Linked DNA regions of Homo sapiens: region 2 is linked to region 1. Evidence: promoter capture Hi-C in 16 types of primary human blood cells and fetal thymus (Javierre and others, 2016). All regions are on one chromosome and are shown on one strand. Each heading gives the region's core, a stretch centred on a gene start or on the middle of the fragment in contact. The rest is flanking DNA. Distances are from core to core; before and after follow the strand shown.

Region 1 (7,573 bases), core at 2,524-5,023:
TTTATGAATAAATAAAAATAGGTAGTAATGTATGTACGAAATATTGCTTTGTAAAGATAAGAGTTTATAATATACACGTTAGTCTTGGGCCTCCAATATTTGGAATTATAGTAGTTGTGTCCTTTCAGTATTTACCCGTTTTCACTACTGCACTCCACTCACTGGAGAATCAAGGGTTTGAGTTTTTATCCCAGCTCAGCCACTAACTTACTTTGTGACTTTGGGAGCTCCTTCCATTCCCTGGGGCTATATCTTCTCATCAGTAAAATGAGACTGTTGGAGGAAATAATCTTTACAATTATTAAGGCCAACTCTGATATCTATGGATCAGTGATTCTTTAACACTCTTAGGTACACAATTAGTGTGTTCATTGTATGACTGGAGAACCTGAGTCACAGATAAGCTGGGACATGACTGTCTTTCTCTTCATTTTGCTCATGGCCCTCTACTAGAGTGGAGAGCTGGTGCCTGGCTAGGTACCAAAGAGGCTTCTGGGAGATCACAGGACTTCAAGAGAGTGAACACAGAGATTATGGAAACCCCTTTTCCAGATTTCTATTGTCCTGTCCTGAATTCTTACTGGCTTCCAGGCCCTGTGCTAAGTACTTTCCTTGGACAAATTTATCAAATCTTTGTAACTATCTTGTCAGCCCTATTCACAGATAAAGAAACTGTCAGGGCATAGAACATTGAATAATCTGCCCAAGTAAGTGGCAAAGCCAATAACTGAATACAATCCAAGTTGTTCTGACTTCAGAGATTATGCCCTACCAACTACATTATGTCTCCTCTAACTACTCATATGGTTCTAGGCAAATAGGTGCTCAAGACATAATGACTGGATTCAACAGCATCTATTTACACCTCTGGGATCAACACGTTTTTTGCAGGAGTCTCTAGGCACCTGTTTTTTGCAGGAGTCCCTAGGCTTTATATTAACACTGGCCTGTTTGCATCCAGATCCATTCTCCACTCTTCTCCTGAAAATTACATTTGTTAGATTTCCTTGCTTTCTCACTTCTTTTGTCCAATGGGAGACATGTACAGGAGATTGGTGGCTAGGAGGAAGGGAGAACCCAGGGTATTTCTCCCACCACCTGTATCAGAGAGGTGTTTTCTGGTGGTAGCTGTATTCCTCCATGGCTCCAGCTCCTCTTGAACAACTCTTCCATTCATGGCACCTGCTTCCAATAGGCTGTCCAACCCATGATTTTAGCTTCTGCATGGCTTCATCTGTTATCCGTCCATCCCTACGAGTGGTAGCAGCTTTCTGTGTTTGTTAAATGCTAGGTTGCTGCATCCTCATCCTCTGTCTGGCTTGTTAGCTCTGTAAGTGTCATGCATTAAATGCTCGCAGTTTAAAAGACCTAGGGTGGTTTTTATTTTCCTGATTGGACCATGACCGGCACAGATACTTTCCACAATTCCAGGGCTACTCACATCACATAAATTGGTTTATATCCTTCAGAGCACATATTACAATCTCTAAATATTTTTGTTTGTTTACTTATTTATTGTCTATCTCTCTTCTGTAAGTAGATTGTAAGGTCCATGAGGAACTTTGTCTTGTATCCTGAGCATCTGTCACAATGCCTGGCACACAGGGGCTAAATGATAATGTTGAATGAATGCATCCATCAAAAAATTCCAAGTTTTTATTGGGTATTTACTATGTGCCAGTCACTGTTGTAGAAGATGCAGAAATTAGTAATTCATTGCCACTGCTTCAAAAACACATAATGCCATTTAAGTGAAAGGGGACAGTAAAATGTTCATATGACCATTGTGTTAGTTCGCTAGGGCTGTGCCATAACAAAATACCACAGACTCTGTGGCTTAAACAACAGAAATTGAGTTTCTTATAATCCTGGAGGCCAGAAGTCTGAGAACAAGGTATCAGTGGGGTTGGGTCTTCTGAGGCCTCTCTCCTTGGCTTGCTGTTTAGATGACTGTCTTCTCCGAGTCATCAGATTCTGAGGTACTGGAAGGACTTCAACATATAAATTTTGGGGGAAAACAATTCAGCCCGTAACATCCAGGAAATAAAAAGATCATTTTTAATCGAGACAGTGAAATCGTAGTGCTATAGGAATCAAATGAAAGATGACAAAATCAGGGCCTGGAGGTATTCCTGGAAAGCTTTCTAAAGGTGGTGTGCCTGGTGCCAGATCTTGAACAGTCATGACAGTTTGAATGGGCTGGTTGGCAGGGGAGGTGCATCCAAGATACTGAGCATGAAAGAAGGCCCAGAGATGGGAAAGTGAGAGAACATTGTGGAATCACTGATGCCTGGGTTACCAGACTTGGGAGGGAAGTTGAAAGGTCATCCAGGGCAACCTCCCATTTGATTCAGGAATCCCTTGCCAAAGGGTCATTCAGCTTCTGCTTGTACACCTCCCATGATGGGGTGCTCATTAAGGTACTGCTTCTATCTTTGCCCAGCTCTGCATGGACAAAACAACAGGTTGGATGAAGTGCAGAAGTTGTGCTAAAAAGAAGAGGACAAATAAAGTACGTGTAACAGGCCAGTGATGTCTTCATGTCAATTATCTCCAGGAACTTCTTTCTAATATCATACTGTAACTCCTTTTACTTTGGTTGCAACCTCTGTTTTTGCAATTCTGTCTTTGCCTGACCTGCTCTTCTAGTCAGGAGCCTTGGATTCTTGTCTTGTTTGGCTGTGCTACTTTAAGCAGAAGTCTTTCAATCTCTGGGCTTCAGTGTTCAAGTCTGTAATGGTGGGCAATTAAGAATCCTTGTTGTGTCCATCTCATAGAGTTACTGTGAGGATTATAAGGGATAATAACAGATGTTAGTGTGACTGACAAAGTCAATTTTTAGCCTAAGCAAAGGTACCAGCCTGTGTTGTGTTCCCCAGAGTTGGGGGAATCATAAAGAGGTGGGTGGTTTCTCCGTTTGCCTGTTTCGCTGATGTGCATTCAACTCATTCTCAGCAAAATAAGCAAATGGAAAATTCGTCCATCAACAAGCTACCTTTCATGTTCCTAAGGGCATGAAGGAGAAGCCTGGAGTGGTGTGTGTGAGATAGAAAGGGAGAGATAGCCGAAAGAGGCTTGGAAAGCCGCAGAGGGTAAAGTCGAGGATTTATCTTTTTTTTTTCTTTAATGTGACCTTATGCCCCTTCCCTCTTCCAAACCTCCATTTATTTATCTATAACTTGGAGATACTAATGGCTGCCTCTACAGGGTTGTTCTGAGAAGTGAAAGTAATGCAGATGAAAGCTCTCAGATAGTACACAAAGAGAGAAGACCCTAGGGGAGTATGCAGAGGGAGGGTGGGGGAGGGAGGCATGAGAGTGCTGGCTTGGCTCCACTGGGGCAGGATCTTATTATTCTGGAGATTGGCACAACACCTCTGGTAACTTTGGAAAGGACTTTCCGCTGACTCGACACAATTGGGAAGCCCCACAATAAACAGCATCTAACTCCAGCGCAGCGGGAGGCAGGCAGAGGTAGCAGCTGCCTTCTCCTGGGCGGGCGGAGGCTATTCGCCCCCATCCTCTCCCTGCACCCCACCCCCACAGTTCTCAAGCCTTGGTGGGGGACAAAAGCAGCCCATTAGGACCCCCCCACACTCGCACCTCTCCCTGCCAAGACCTCTAGGAGCAGCAGGGCGGAGAGACAGAGCCTGCCGGTTGGCATGGAACAAACTGACTGAAGGCGAGGTCCGGGGCGGAGGGGATTGGGTTGTAGGGCTGTGGAGGAGGGGCGGCGGAGGGGGCGCTGGGGCTCTCGCTTGCTTCAGCCCAGCCCTTCTAGTCAGCCCGCGACAACTCGCGCCAGCTACGGGGCCTCAGAGAAGCCGGACTTCGCAAGCACCATGCAGTGGATAAGGGGCGGATCGGGAATGGTGAGTGCATGTAACCTTGGCTTCCCTTGCTTGAGCCTCTCAGTCCCCCAGCCCCACCTCCAGTTCCTCCAACGAGCCACAAGGCAGTGAGCACCCTGGCCTCTGCCCACCGCCCTAGCCGCCGTCCTTGAGACACCAGTGAGCTTGCTGTGGCCATTTTAGGAGTCCCTGCTAGCCTGCCTGCCCAGGAAACCCCCCTACCATCCCCCTCCACTTTTCTATCTCCCTCTGAGATTAAGGTGGAATAGGGGTGGGGGCCAGATTATGTGCCCAGGAACATCCCAGGGGTCACTTGGGAGGCCAGAGAGGGAAGGGGGATGGCAGAGGGCTTCTCTGGAAGCAGTGAAGCTCGCAGGAGGCTGACAAGCTGGCACGGGGTTGTGGGGGGAGGGGACGGTCACAAAGCCTGGAATTGTGGAGGGGGCCTTATGGGAGAGCTGCATGACTCCCCCCTGCCCCCAACTAGATTTTCTGCAACTCCTTTCCCTGGTCAGCCCCAGAGCATGAGGGCCAGAGAGCCACTCTCTCTCTCTCAGGAAGCTGCCTGAGGGAGCCCTAAAGCCCTTCCTTGTCCGGGCTGGGGTCACCCTGTCCACACTTGGGGCTTTGTCAAGGAGAGACAGCTGCAGAAACCCACATTCTGGAAATGGGCTTGGGCCACAGTCAGTTAACAGAGCTCTTCTCTCCCTCCCAAGGAGTGTGTGCTTGTGTGTGTGTTTAGTATAATCCTCCAACAGTTCATTTTATGCCATGGTGTTCCCTTCTCCACCTGGAGACCTTGGAATGACTTCCTTTTGCAGAGAGGAAGTGGTGGCTGCATTTTGATGCCTCTCTGACTTAGCCAGGAGCAGCTTAAGCCTGGTTAGGGCCTCTGGGGAGTGGGAGGCCCCCATGACTTTGTCCTCAGCTGGGAGGCATAAGCAAAAGGGCCTTAGAAGGCAGTTAGGTTGGGTCAGCAGGCACTGATGGCAATAGCCCACACTTCTACGCTGCCACCCATAACCCGCAGATGAAGGAAAGTAGCCTGAAGTGGTTGGGCAAAAACTGATATTTAACTCCATTTTTGCTTTCATTGTGGAGGGGAAGAGGGAATCTGGTGTGGGCTAGGACTATATTCAGAGGGGCTGTCCTCTTCCCTTCCTCAGAGTTTTGTTAGATCTCTGTTTCAGTGGTTCTTAAGGGCATCCGGTTCATATGCCTATGTGCTGGGGCTTCAAAAGACCCTTCTTCCCAGACCTCCCTACTTCCCTGAGGTCCCATTAAAGCTGCATCAAATGTTTGTAGAACCAGAAAAGATTAGAGCAGGTAAAGACCTTAGAGTCCTTGCTGTCCAGCCAGGAAAGCTGGGATCCAGAGAGTGGGAGAGACTTGCCCAGGACCACAAACTCCTTGGAGGCAAAGCTGAGTCTAGCACTTGAGTCTCCTGACTGCCACAGTCCTTCCCCACTGCTCCACCAATCATTTGCTCAAATGGTGCTGAGAGGGGAAGAAAGGAACATAGTCATGATCTTGGGAAAGGACTTTCTTCAGGATGATCTAGTGCCATTAAATTTACCTGAAAGCCGGGCGCGGCCGCCCACGCCTGTAATCCCAGCACTTTGGGAGGCCGAGGCGGGTGGATCATCTGAGGTCGGGAGCTCAAGAACAGCCTGACCAACGTGGAGAAACCCCGTCTCTACTAAAAAGACAAAATTAGCTGGACGTAGTGGCACATGCCTGAGGCTGAGGCAGGAGAATCACTCGAACCCAGGAGGGGGAGGTTGCGGTGAGCCGAGATTGTGCCGTTGCAGTCCAGCCTGAGCAACAAGAGCGAAACTCCATCTCAAAAAAAAAAAAAAAAAATTACCCGAAAAAAATCCATGCCAGTCCTGGCATTTCTGGCAACTGGGAACTGGGTCAGGGTGAGACTTACTTCCTCTCCCAAATATATTGAAGTATAGGGGCCCAGAGCCACTCATTGACAACAGGTTAAATTAATGAAGAAATTTGAAGTTTTGCCAACAGTGTATGAGAGAGAAAAGGGTGGCAGACATCTTGTGGAGACTGTGTAATTAAGGATTGGTTGATGGGGAAAAATCTCATAATATTCTTAGAGGACTGAGACAATGAATATTATATGATGAAAGCATTTATTTAGCTGTTTACCAGAATTCAAGAGATGGGAGTAGTAAACTCTATTCTTGCCTGAGAGGCAGGGAACCTCTAAGTTTTGGCCTTGCCACTAACAGAAATCCTTTGGGCCTCAGATTTCTTACCTATTAAATGCGGATGTTAATAAGCACCAAAATTCCTTCTAGGCCTTAGATTCTCAGATTCCTAGAAGTATGTGTTGGATAAAATTTAACTAGTGGCTCATTACGAACAAATAGGGATTGTGTATCTAGCCACCATTTTATAACGTGGCTAGCTGAAAGATCTTTGCTCCTTGTTCTTTCGTTTGCAAGGTGCCCGAAGTACAAACTGAGCTTTTTATAACAGTGAGATTTCTTTTTAGTACATTTGACTGTAGTAACTTATTTCAAGTGTTACATGTAAATCGTGGGCCTTGAACATAAAACATTGTTCAAGATTTTACAGAATAAAATCTGTCTCATAGATACAGGATGCTAAACTGTGAGTTCACACTGGACGGTAAATTGTTATTTATTCTTGGCTTCTTTCTGCAATGCCAGTTTGTGCTGGGTTAGCCAGTATGCCTAAATTGGAAAGAACACTGTTCTCAGAGTAACAAATCAGAGGTTTAGGACCCGGCTTTTATGTTTCTCAGTCCTGAAACTATTACCAATTGTCGAACCTACTTTATTCTCAGTATTCTCTTACATAAAATGGGGATAAAGTGCCTTTTTATAGGTACTATCGGGTCATTAATTTATTCAACACAAATGTAGGGGATCTGCTATGAAATGACACTGATCTAAGTTCAGGGGAGATCACAATGAAAAAAAATTCCTCACTTTCATGGAGCTTATATTCTAGGGGTTGTGAAGTTCATTAAACCATAACAGAAATGAATATACACTATGTCAGGAGGTGGTAATCACTAGGAAAAAAAATAAAACCTGTTAAGAGCATAGAGACACATGGGAAGTTGGATGGTATATTAGATCCATCAAAGCCTCACTAGTTAAGGGGCATTTGAGCAAAGATGTGAAGGAAGTGCAGGAACAAGCTCTGTGTATATGTTTAGGAGAAGAGGATTTTAGGCATAAAGAACATCCAGAAAGAACACAACTGGTTTGTTTAAAGAACAGCAAGGAGGCCAATGTCCTTGGGATAAAGAATTAGTACATGGAAGAAGGATAGATGAAATCAGAGAGAAAACAGCCACTTTTATAGGGCATTATTCTGAGTGAGATTGGGAGCCATTGAAAGGTTTTGAACAGATGAGGGACATGATCTGACTTAAATTTTAACAGGAGGCTAAATTGTAGTGGGACAAGGACGAGAACTGTGAGGAGGCCCAGGTTAGACGTGATGGTTGCTTGGATCAGGGTGATAATGGTGGAGATGATCTATATGAAATGACTGACATCATTGTTTATAGATGATACGTGTCTTTCTCCTTTCTGATCACCTGCTCGGACCCTCAGATCGCTAAGAGTGGGGCTAGAAAGAACATAGAGTGGGTCTATACATGGAGGGGCATTTCATATCTAAGTCAATGTTCGAGTGATCTGCTTTTGGACTTCTGACCATGGTAGG
Region 2 (6,984 bases), core at 520-3,019, 410 kb before region 1:
AGTAGCAGGAGAGGTAAACCCACCCAATGGCCCTGTGGGGGACCCACTGAGCCTCTTGTTTGGGGATGTGACATCCCTGAAAAGCTTTGATTCATTGACAGGTTGTGGTGACATAATAGCAGAACAGGACATGGACAGTATGACAGACAGCATGGCCTCTGGGGGCCAGAGAGCAAACCGAGATGGGACCAAGCGAAGTTCCTGCCTGGTGACCTACCAAGGAGGTGGGGAGGAGATGGCCTTGCCAGATGATGATGACGAGGAGGAAGAAGAGGAAGAAGAGGTGGAATTAGAGGAGGAAGAAGAGGAGGTTAAGGAGGAGGAAGAAGATGATGACTTAGAATATCTGTGGGAAACTGCCCAAATGTATCCACGGCCCAATATGAACCTGGGCTACCATCCCACCACATCCCCAGGCCACCACGGCTACATGCTCCTTGACCCAGTTAGGTCTTATCCTGGCCTAGCCCCTGGGGAACTTTTGACTCCTCAGAGTGACCAGCAAGAATCCGCCCCCAATAGTGATGAAGGTTATTATGACTCCACCACACCTGGATTTGAGGATGATTCAGGTGAGGCCCTGGGGCTTGTCCGCAGGGATTGTCTACCCCGAGACAGCTACAGTGGAGATGCCCTATATGAGTTCTATGAGCCAGATGACAGCCTTGAGAACTCTCCACCTGGAGATGACTGCCTTTATGACCTCCATGGTCGAAGCTCTGAGATGTTTGACCCCTTCTTAAACTTTGAGCCCTTTTTGTCCTCCCGGCCACCTGGGGCAATGGAGACAGAGGAAGAACGGCTAGTGACCATCCAGAAACAGTTGTTGTATTGGGAGCTTCGGCGGGAGCAGCTTGAGGCCCAGGAGGCACGTGCCCGAGAAGCTCATGCCAGGGAGGCCCACGCCAGGGAGGCCTATACTCGAGAGGCTTATGGCAGGGAAGCCTATGCCAGGGAGGCCCACACTTGGGAAGCTCATGGCAGGGAGGCCAGAACCCGAGAAGCCCAGGCCCGAGAGGTTCGTTGTAGAGAGACTCAAGTCCGAGAGACCCAGGCCCGGCAGGAGAAGCCCGTCTTAGAGTATCAGATGAGGCCCTTAGGCCCATCAGTGATGGGCCTGGCAGCAGGGGTATCAGGGACCTCTCAGATTTCCCACCGGGGAATTACCTCAGCTTTCCCCACCACTGCAAGCAGCGAGCCAGACTGGAGGGACTTCCGTCCTCTGGAGAAGCGTTATGAAGGAACCTGCTCCAAGAAAGATCAAAGTACCTGCCTGATGCAGCTCTTCCAGAGTGATGCCATGTTTGAGCCAGACATGCAAGAAGCAAATTTTGGAGGATCTCCCAGGAGGGCCTACCCTACTTATTCACCCCCTGAAGATCCAGAGGAAGAGGAGGTTGAGAAGGAAGGGAATGCCACTGTGAGTTTCTCACAGGCCCTGGTAGAGTTCACCAGCAATGGGAACCTCTTTTCCAGCATGTCCTGCAGCTCTGACTCTGACTCATCTTTCACTCAAAACCTCCCTGAGCTGCCTCCCATGGTGACCTTTGACATCGCTGATGTGGAACGGGATGGGGAAGGCAAGTGTGAAGAGAATCCTGAGTTCCACAATGATGAAGATCTTGCAGCCTCCTTGGAAGCCTTTGAGCTGGGCTACTATCACAAACATGCCTTCAACAACTACCATAGTCGATTCTACCAAGGCCTGCCCTGGGGTGTGAGCAGCCTCCCTCGATACTTGGGACTGCCTGGCCTGCACCCTCGACCTCCACCTGCTGCTATGGCCCTCAACAGGAGAAGCCGCTCTCTCGACACTGCAGAGACCCTGGAGATGGAGCTCTCCAATTCCCACTTGGTCCAGGGCTACCTCGAGTCTGATGAGCTGCAGGCCCAGCAGGAAGATTCAGATGAGGAGGACGAAGAGGAGGAAGAAGGAGAATGGAGCCGAGACAGTCCCCTTTCCCTCTATACTGAACCCCCAGGGGCCTATGATTGGCCTGCTTGGGCTCCCTGTCCTCTTCCAGTGGGGCCAGGTCCTGCCTGGATAAGCCCCAACCAGTTGGACAGGCCTTCCAGCCAGTCTCCATATAGGCAGGCAACCTGTTGCATACCTCCTATGACCATGTCAATATCACTATCAGTGCCAGAGTCAAGGGCACCTGGGGAATCTGGGCCTCAACTAGCTCGTCCCTCACACCTACACCTGCCCATGGGCCCTTGCTATAACCTCCAGCCACAGGCCTCCCAGAGCATGAGGGCCAGGCCTCGAGATGTGCTGCTGCCTGTTGATGAGCCCAGTTGCTCTTCCAGTTCTGGAGGCTTCAGCCCCAGCCCTCTACCACAGGCCAAGCCTGTGGGCATCACCCATGGCATTCCTCAGCTGCCCAGGGTCCGGCCTGAGCACCCCCAGCCTCAGCCCACTCACTATGGGCCTTCCAGCCTTGACCTGTCAAAGGAGAGGGCTGAGCAAGGTGCCTCTCTTGCCACCAGCTACTCCTCCACTGCCATGAATGGAAACCTAGCCAAGTAGTTATTATCAATTCTGGAGTAGGGACACGGGGCCTGAGCATGTGAATGGGGATCAGGGGTTGGGCAGAAGGGTGGGGGGGTGGGGGTTGTTGTTTAACTTGAAAACCCTTTGGGCCAAGGAAAACTCCTGTGAGTTTTCACCTTGGTTTTCCCACTTGCCTCTTCTGCCATCTATGGCCACGTTCAACTCAAGTGCATCTGCCCAGGGAGGCTGCTGCTGCTACTGCACTCCAGTTTTTGCTTTCGAGGTTTCTTCTTGTGACCCACGCTGGGTTTGGGATGCTGTAATTTTGTGCCTATTCCAGTTGCCAAGTTAGTGATTATATATATATATATATATATATATATATATATATATATATATACACACACACACACACACACACACACACACATACATACACACACACACACAAACACACATGCACACACATATATAGCATGCATCCTTGACACAGGCTAAACCTTTAGTGCCCCCTGCCCCTTTCCCCCAATGAATGATGAACCACTGATTAGCAGCCAAGTCTGCATTGCCTCCCGCTTGGGGAAGTGGGGCTTATTTGCTATTAGCAATGTGAAATTATGGTACAGATCCTCCCCACCCCTATTCCTTTTGGCCTGGCATAGCTGCCATCATTATATCAGATGACTATAAGCTATTCATCCCAGCTAGCTGTCCTTAGAGAGGATCAAGTAGCGTGTGTCTCACAGCCTATCGCTGTGGACTTTGGCATCATGACCAGATGGGGGCCTTTTAACTGTCCTGCCATAGCTTGGGTTAAAGACAAAAATGCTAATCCCCTTGATGGAGTGATAAAATTCATCCATTTGCAAACAGAAGACAAAACAAGGTTCTGTTGTGGACACTGCCATAGAGTGTTGAGCTCCGGAATGATAGGATTTTTTTTCCTTCTTTTAAGCTTGTGACTACCTGAGTTGCAGATGCTTTTGAATTTTTGTTCTTTTTTCCTCTAAAGGAAATTTTCATAATCTCATCACAAGGAACACGGTCTTTTAATTGAGATAAGGGAAGAGAAGCAACCTAAATTAGGCTTGACTATAGGGGCTGGGGTTTTTGTGGAGTGTAGGGGAAAGATAGAAAATGAGGGTCCATTTATCACAGCCAGCAAGAAAGGGGATTTCAGACCATGCAGAGCTTAAGGTATCTCAGTTTCTTAAAAGGGAAAACTCCCTTCTCAAGCCTCCCAACACAAAATGTTCCTTAAGCCTTGCCCATCCCATCATTTGGACTCTGTAATAAGGCCCCAGGTTTGCACTCCCAAGACAGGATACCAAAGGCATCTCAGCTGCTGTTCTGGGCCCTTTAAAGAGCTTTTATCTTCCAATTAGCCGAGTCCTTAGCATCATCAAATGACAGGGCTTCTTGGCAGTTGCAGCCCTTTATGGAATGAATGGCACCCTCCCTTCTCCTGCATCCATGCAGTTTTCATGTTAAACTAGGTTGGAAATACTGGTGGGGAAGAGCTTGCTGTCAGGAAGACATTGGAACAGGCTAATCTTGCCAAGCTCAACCTCTCATTAATCACCTGTAGGAGAGGGTTCCTTTTACATGTCTTTATTGGAAATGGCATATGGAACATTTTTTGCTTGGCTGTGTTCACTCAAATTATGATTATTGCACCCTCGCCCTCACATCCCACCATCTCCATGCCTGTTGAGAGAAGAAGTCAACAGGGTTCTTGCCATTCCTGAGATATGGCAATTTAGCTTGGGAACAGATGCTGTTTGCCCCCTAAGTCAAGGTGACTTTGTGGGCAAACTGTTTCTTGGCCAGGGGATGTGTCCATGCTGGTCTTTGTCACCATTTCTCAGATTGGGGTTGGCCCAGTGCCCTTACTCACAAATAGCAGACCTGGCTGGTAGAAGCTGCACCCCTGGAAGCACCACATGAATTTGCATGGCACTAACACCACCACTCAAGGGACCCAGACCAGCTCTTCAGGCTGACTTTGGCTACAGATACATTGTGAAGAAATGTATCTGTTGTGGAGCTGGAGAATGAAAGAGGGTGAGGAAGGCCCTCCTTACCCCAAGCACAGCATTCCAAGAGAGAAGTGCCCAAATTCCAACTTTCTGGCCTCTTACCAAAGCTGCTCTGGGATGGTGGGGCTGAAATTGGCCTGGCTATTTGGCAGGAAGTAAACACTCACCAAATGCCTTTACAACAGGGAAGAACCCACCTCTTGCCTCTTCTTTCAGGGCAGCTTGAGCTCCTGTCTACATGTGGACTGTGCCAGCCACAGCAGGCGGTAGAGCCATCACCAGCCTCCAGACCCTGCTGGAGAAGGGCCACCAGCCTATCTGGGAAGAGAAAAAGGAGGTGGCCAACCTTTGGCTAAGGGCTGAGAGCTGCCCTCAGGATCAGGAAGGCAGCATGAGGCATTGTCTCTGAGGGGCACTGGCATAGCCCTGACACACTTTGTTGGGCTTTGGAAGGTCACACACCACAGAGTAGGGCCTGGGGCTGAGTGAGAGTTCATGGTTTGGACAGCCTTGCTGCCTGCAAGTCCCTTCACTGCCCTAGCCAGCCCAGGAATAGGATCCTTACCACCTGAAGTGGGGCAGCCAGGATATGTGGCTGCAGAAGCAGGTTCCTTTGAATTTCTAGAGCTAAGCAGTTTGTGGCTGAAACCCAATGGCAGCCTAGGGGAGGAAGGAAGACCTGTCTGGGGACCCATGGTGTTGACAGCACAGGGTGACATTGGGAGAGCCAGCCAAGCTTCAGGCCTGTTTCCAAACACAGACTAGTGCTGGCTTGGGTGGCAGCAAATACACCCCAGACCACTAAAACTGTTGATATCATGTCCACACCTCCAAGAGTACTACTAGATGAACAACATGTCTCCATTGCAAGGTCCTGGAATAATGCTTTTGGATGTGATTTTAAGGGAAAATGGGACTTAGTGGAAGTAGCTGCCTTCATCTTATTACCCAATAGGCCTAGTGCCAGACAGCTGTGATCCTGAGAATTCCCAGATGAGACTGGTCCTTGGAGGACCAGTGAATGTGGATAGAGAAGGCCACCTAGTAGGCCTCTCCCAGGGCCAGGATGCCAGTTTCTTGGTGCTTTAGAGTCTCCAAGGAAGCACTGCCTTGGGGCCCAGTTCAAGCCAGCCCTACCTATCTGGCCTCAGCTTGGGTACCAGGCCACAAGACTGCCCGGATAATGGGTTCAGTAAACACCAGTCTCTCTCCCTCCTTAGTCCTATGCCAAGAAGGGAAGTAGCTTCACACACTCAGGAGGCTGGGTGTGTACCCTTCATCCTGCTGCCAGCAGCTTTCCTTACCTGTGCCAGTGCCACCACCCCACCTGCCCTCAGCCCCCAGGCCCAGTTGCTAGAGGGAGGCATGGGGTTTAGCAGGGAGACTTCAAGTTTACCCATGTGTATGTTGCATTCAAGTTGTTTTTAATATATATATATATATATATCAAAAGTCAATTATCTATTTTTATATTGTTTGCATTTTATATTCATGGAAAACAATGTTTATCAATTGTTCTTTTCTGATTTATTTTTAAGCGGTGCTGTTTACAGTTTTAAACAAAACAAAGATGACACAAAAATTGCTGCTGCTTGTGCAGAGGGCTGGCATCTCAACTGCCTAGGGCCCTCCCTCTTTCCCCTCTCCCTACCTTAGCTGTACCACACTGTCCGTTCCCTCCCCCCATGATAGGGACAGCAGAAGATGCCCAGGTACTGAAGACAAACGCCAAGTGACTCAGGCGTGTGGGACCTGGTAGACAGCTTGTCATTTTCTGGCTTTATTTTATGTTTTTCTTTCTTTTGAACCCTTCTTCCCCATGTCTAGACCCTCTGAGAGTACTCATGTGTCTTATTTTTTTTCCTCGTTATGTTTTGTGCTTTAGTTTTGAAATCAGAGTGCCCATGTTGTGCTATTTGTCTTGTTGAGTTTCTCCAAAGGAGCATTTTGGGAACATTCTCCACCCAATGGGGAAGGAAGGGGGTTTCAACCATGTCCCCTTTCCCCAAGAAGCTGTGGGAGACAGATGACAATGATGCTTGCACTATCAGGAATTTACCATCTCGTTGAGGAAACCCTTGCATAGGACTTCCTAGGAGCTCAGTTGATTGTGACATTTTCCCAGAAGAGAGGCTTTGGGGAACTCCTTCACCCCTCTTGCTGCTTTGGGGGAATCTCCTCCCCTACCACCATTCCCCCTCCCCTGCCCTGCTCCAGCTCACACGTGGATGGTACTTTGGGGAACAGTGACTTTCAGGGTGATGGCTTGCTGGCCTGATCCCTGACTTTCCAATCCTATAGTCACTCCAAAGAAGAAAATCCACATGGTATGTATATGTGTGAGGGTTGGGTCTATTGAGAGGTGGGACTTTAATTATTGTTATTATTATTGGTGCTTATTTTTCCTGCTGTATATGGGGGTGGGGGTGGGGGGGAATAAAACAGGAATGT

Evidence for each region. The method cuts DNA at HindIII sites, captures the fragments that hold promoters and counts their contacts. A CHiCAGO score of 5 or more calls a contact.
Region 2: a contact is called between a fragment that was not itself captured here and the fragment with the promoter of ARHGEF9 in region 1, in 1 of 17 cell types (monocytes). The highest score is 5.1, in monocytes.

What each region holds. Positions count from the first base shown.
Region 1 is chrX:63,781,414-63,788,986 of GRCh38, reverse strand. ARHGEF9 (Cdc42 guanine nucleotide exchange factor 9) reads left to right here and starts at 3,773. Exons shown (of 10, transcript NM_001353921.2): 1 at 3,773-3,871. The coding sequence starts at 3,842. It overlaps MIR1468 (microRNA 1468), which reads left to right and starts at 2,900; the gene lies at 2,900-2,985. The HindIII fragment of the contact is 6,142 bases long and covers 2,143-7,573 here.
Region 2 is chrX:64,185,425-64,192,408 of GRCh38, reverse strand. It overlaps AMER1 (APC membrane recruitment protein 1), which reads left to right. Exons shown (of 2, transcript NM_152424.4): 2 at 1-6,984. The coding sequence ends at 2,530. Among named protein-coding and RNA genes, the nearest start is that of AMER1, 17 kb to the left of the region's middle. The HindIII fragment of the contact is 3,365 bases long and covers 87-3,451 here.